Regions from separate parts of the Homo sapiens genome. Here region 2 is linked to region 1. The links are contacts of gene promoters, found by promoter capture Hi-C in blood cells and fetal thymus (Javierre and others, 2016). All regions are on one chromosome and are shown on one strand. Each heading gives the region's core, a stretch centred on a gene start or on the middle of the fragment in contact. The rest is flanking DNA. Distances are from core to core; before and after follow the strand shown.

Region 1 (2,593 bases), core at 44-2,543:
ACGCTGTTCTAAGTCTTTTACAAATATTTACTTGATATTTGTATTTTGTGTACTATTTTGATTTCTGCAACATTATTAGGCTTCATACTCTTCTGTGGGAACTGGGTTCAAATGGTTCCAGATGAAAATACAAATAGTCCTGTGATTAGTTTTGTTCTACATCTTATGACAGATACTTCATGAAAGGAAATATGAAAAGGCCACATCTTGCTTTGAAATAAGTGAGATGGAGCCTCTCCCTCTTTTTACTGTTAATGTTCATAGTTTTAAAAATCCTAGAATTTTGCTGCTTTTCAAAATGTTAAGTTGGAAAGCAAGAATAAAATGACCCTTTTTTCAAATGTTTTCTGTACCATTTATTGCATTGTTTACATTTTATGCATCTCATTTCTAAATGAACTCATGGTAACAGAGACTGTAACACTTTTGCATCACCGGAATCTTCTAGGTGTGTAAAATGATGGACGAGTGAATGAATAAATGGGGGAGTGGTTCAGAGCTTGGAATGGCGCTATGAAGGTGGTGAAGTGACGTCCCTACCCCCTCAACACACATATAAAAATTATGAATTTATAAACATTTTCCTCTTGATGTAATTTTTCAATGGAGGGAAGAGGATAAATTCATAGTTCTGGCACTTACATCTGGAATTAGGCTACACAGTCTACGGGAAGCAAGTTAACACAGTCTAACAGATGCACGTGAATTTCATGCTGGGCGAAGATGAACTATGTGGAAGATGACTTATAAGGAGCTTTTATGTTACATCTTGGCAGTTAACACAGTCTAACTGATGCACGTGAATTTCATGCTGGGCGAAGATGAACTATGTGGAAGATGACTTATAAGGAGCTTTTATGTTACATCTTGGCAGTTAACACAGTCTAACAGATGCACGTGAATTTCATGCTAGGCAAAGATGAACTATGTGGAAGATGACTTATAAGGATCTTTTATGTTACATCTTGGCCTGAGGTTAGGAAACTAAAGATGACAAAGGCACTGTTTTAGTATGGGTTTTCTGGTTTCGCTTTTGTCGTGGGGGCGGGGTGGGATAGTGGACTCGTACCCTAACAAAGACCCACTCGAGGCTGCGTGTCGGCCCGGGGGCAGCAGGGGGCAGGAGAAGCTGGCTCTAGACCACGCGTTCCTTTTCACGTGACCAGTCGCTCTCTTTCCCGTGGCGGCCCTGCTTCCGGCAGGGGCATCACCCGGAAGTGGGGGTAGTCGAGGGAGGGAGGGGTAAAGGCGGCTGGCCGCCGCGGCGGGGGGTGGGAAAAGAGAAGCAGAGGGAGGAGTTGTTGCTGCCGCCGCCGCAGCCGCAGCTACTGTGACTTCTCCGATTGTGTGAGCTTTGTTGGAGCCTGCGTACGTGGATTTATCGCTGCCACGGTCTGCGTAGCTCCAGAGGTTTAACCATAGGATAGAGAAACCAGGTAAGTCCTACATTGGCTTCCCGTCGTCCTTTCTCCTGGAGGGGGTCTTCTGTGCTGTCAGTTTGTACTACGAGTGTGGTGAGAAGGTCATGTTAGTCTGGGGCAGTCTCGAAAGTTTCACTTATTCACAATTCAGGTATTAACTACATTTATGTTTTACCTCCCCTAACAGGGGATAGAGGAGGGGAAATTAAATCCTGACCTGTGTCACTTTCTTGTACCCTCTTGGAGAGAATGTCCTGATCATCCATGGCCTACGTTACCCAATTAATTGAGGGTACAAGAAAGTTTGTGTTTGGCATTGAAAGTCACATGGACTGGGGTCTTTGCTTAGTGACACCTCTTTATACTTTGGAAGCTAAGGTTACTAAAATGACCATAATTGATGAAATAATAATTGAAAAATAGATATTTGGCTTCTTGTCTTGCTCTGGGAGCGTAAGGTAAACTGAGAGAACTCTTGTTTCCACTTAGTTTTGTTCATTGTGCCCCCTTTCCAGTAAAGTTACTGTCCATTGTCCGACCCTGTGGCATCTTATCTTTGACACTTTTCTTCGTTGTAGACGTTGAGATTATCTTAAGCACAAACACTTATCGTTTCACAATTCAGCGTTTGTCCAGGATCTGATCTTTATTTTAATCACAGACTCTTTATCTACAATAGTATGGCTTTGTATTGAGAATATGTGCAGAACATTGAATTAGATGATACTGAGGTTATTAATTTTTTTTTTTTTTTGCCGGGTGCGGGGGGGTGGTGGGGAGGGGGTGATGCACAAGAAATAAGACAGAGTTCCTGGCCTCAAAAGAGTTTACTTACAGTAGGCTGGGCGCAGTGTCTGACACACCTGTAATACCAACACTTTGGGAGGCCGAGGAGGGTGGATCACCTGAGGTCAGGAGATCGAGACCAGCCTGGCCATCATGGCGAAACCCTGTCTTTACTAAAAATACAAAAATTAGCTGGGCGTGGTGGCGGGCGCCTGTAATCCCAGCTAGTCGGGAGACTGAGGCAAGAGGATCGCTTGAACCTGGGAGGCGGATGTTGCAGTGAGCCGAGATCGTGCCACTGCACTCCAGCCTGGGCTACAAGAGCGAAACTGTCTCCAAAAAAGAAGAAAGAAAAATAAACAGTTTACATACAATTGAGTCCGAAT
Region 2 (2,593 bases), core at 50-2,549, 3.3 Mb after region 1:
ACCAAACACCACATGTTCTCACTCATATGTGGGAGTTGAACAATGAGAACACATGGACACAGGACAGGGAACATCACACCCCGGGGCCAGTCGGGGGGTGGGGGGCTGGAGGAGTGATAGCATTAGGTGAAATACCTAATGTAAACAACGAGTTGATGGGTGCAGCAAACCAACATGGCACATGTATACCTATGTAACAAACCTGCACGTTGTGCACATGTACCCTAGAATTTAAAGTATAATTAAAAAAAAATAAGAAGGTGGCCTCTGGAGTTCCTAACTCTGGAATGTACTAACCATATGATTTTAGGAAAACTATTTTTCTGAGTTTCAGTTTCTTCATCTGTAAAATTAATGTAATAGTACCCACCTCTTGAGGTTGTTTTAAGGACAACATGTAAAGAGATTAATTTGGAATTAGTATTTAAGACAGATTGGAGAAGGGAAAACCTGTGGGTAGGGAACAGTTAACAAAGCTATTGTAAGCACTGAGCCTAGGCAAAGACAGTAAACCACTAGACTGGAGACAGTGGAAAAACAGCAAAGGAAAAGAAGTAGGACAAGCGACTGACTCCTCTCCACTCTCATTCATCTTGCAAATTCCTTTTTTTCTGTTCATTTAACATAATCTGGGAACCTAAAACTACACTTTGAAGTATATGGTCTGTCTCTGGACATTATTAACTGTTTGCTCATTTCCTTAGAGCTACAAATAACCATCTGATCTCTCTCTTCACCATTTCAACATCTGCAATATGTTCTCCCAAATCCCTTACTTCAGTCAGTTAAAAAGCAAAACAAAACAAAAATCATCCATCTTTTTACACAATATTTTCAATCTTTTCTTTGTAATTTATTCCTTCATTCTTAAACTTGCCAATCAGGCCTCCTGCAAATTCCCACGGAAGCAGGGTTCCCTAATTTAACAAAACACAAAATTCAAAAAGAAAACCAATCCTGCCATTTCTGGGCTTAAGGAAACCTGAAACTTTCCTTCAAAACTCTGCAGCATTGCTCAGTACTTTAGTGCCTAATTCCTACAACGAGCTAAGATCAGAAAAATCACTACGTAATAGGAATCTTAAAATGCGCAAGGCTTTGAGAACATGGGTTTTCAACATACAGCTTGCTCTTTCAGGATCTGTCTTCTTATTTGCATATATTTCTGAGCAGGAAGTTATGCGCAGTACTTTTAGTCTCCGCGTGAAAAGGTCCTTCATGCTAATCTAATTCAATTCAGTTCTCCTTTTTCTTTCTTCTTCTCCTCGCCCTCTTCTCAGGGAAGGAATCGTCAAAAATCAATGTTTCAACAGATCTCGCGGTGCTATTCGAGATTCCCTATTAAAAAAAAATAGAATTGATGCAAACAGCCTGTTCCTTCCGGGGTTTTGGGCTGGAACTGCAGCGCTTAGAGAGCTCGGTGGAAGCTGCTAAAGGCGGAGGCGGGGCTCTGGCGAGTTCTCCTTCCACCTTCCCCCACCCTTCTCTGCCAACCGCTGTTTCAGCCCCTAGCTGGATTCCAGCCATTGCTGCAGCTGCTCCACAGCCCTTTTCAGGACCCAAACAACCGCAGCCGCTGTTCCCAGGATGGTGATCCGTGTATATATTGCATCTTCCTCTGGCTCTACAGCGGTAAGGAGAGTGGGGAGTCCACCTTTGTTGTTTTCCTACACACCAGTCCTCTGCTGCCCCAGAACCATTAAAATGCAGAAGTTCCTCTGGCAGCTTCTCCTTTGGAAGACTCATGCATCCCCGATCCCACCCTTCTTCTTCCCTTTTTTCCCTTTGTTGCATCGATTTCATTTTTTTTTTTTTCCACATAGAGTTCAGCTTTGTTTGCTTCGTGACGTTGGGGGGCACATTTCTGCTTTGAAGGAAAACGAAAGCTACCAAGTTTTGGGAGATGGGAGATGGTGCTATACGGTCTTTAGGGTTACGTGAAGTCAAGTAAAATCGCACACTGGTGAGTTTCAAGAGTGAGACATTTGATGAATACGCCCTAAGTACTGAGACAAGGAGGAGTGCACTTCTGTAAAGGATGGGGGTACACATGCTGTAACTGGTGGGGATTGAGTGGAGGCCTACCGAGGCATTGTAATTATTCTGGGTGAGTGAGACCCTGGTAATAGAGTTATTTTGAGAGTGTGTAGAAGAAAGTGGTTAACTTGAGCTTGAAGGCCTGTTAGAACTAGACAAATTGGGAGGGGAAGTTGGTAACAATGACGTAAATTTTTTTTTAACTTAATATGACACGAGATTCAGTTTTCCCCCCATATTGTCCCTTATTTTGACTGTTTCTATTCTTTCAAAATATTTTACTTTTAAATTTCTCTCACTGCTTCAAGTATATTGAGAACTGGATAGGGAGCTCAGTGGCTTCTTGTGTAGTGGCAGCCTGAGTTGCTGCTGCTTCAAATGATAGGACTTTCTCTTTCATGGATTCACTTACTCTTAATTTAGAATAACAAATTTTCAGCAGCTGTCGGGAGAATATGATAAACTGGGGTGCAAGATGAGTGTATATCCATGATAAATGAAAGTGCTTCTGCTTTTTACAACTCAAGAGAAAGGCAGACAGTGGCAAGAACAGATG

What was found. Contacts are between HindIII fragments. The CHiCAGO score rates a contact against its expected background, and 5 or more counts as called.
Region 2: the fragment with the promoter of HMGN5 here is called in contact with the fragment with the promoter of ATP7A in region 1 in 1 of 17 cell types (fetal thymus); the score reaches 6.7 in fetal thymus.

What each region holds. Positions count from the first base shown.
Region 1 is chrX:77,909,400-77,911,992 of GRCh38, forward strand. It overlaps ATP7A (ATPase copper transporting alpha), which reads left to right and starts at 1,294. Exons shown (of 23, transcript NM_000052.7): 1 at 1,294-1,436. The HindIII fragment of the contact is 7,135 bases long and covers 1-2,593 here.
Region 2 is chrX:81,200,614-81,203,206 of GRCh38, forward strand. HMGN5 (high mobility group nucleosome binding domain 5) reads right to left here and starts at 1,300. Exons shown (of 7, transcript NM_030763.3): 1 at 1,124-1,300. It overlaps SH3BGRL (SH3 domain binding glutamate rich protein like), which reads left to right and starts at 1,489. Exons shown (of 4, transcript NM_003022.3): 1 at 1,489-1,632. The coding sequence starts at 1,588. RefSeq lists enhancers at 1,145-1,394, 1,515-1,684. The HindIII fragment of the contact is 6,013 bases long and covers 1-2,593 here.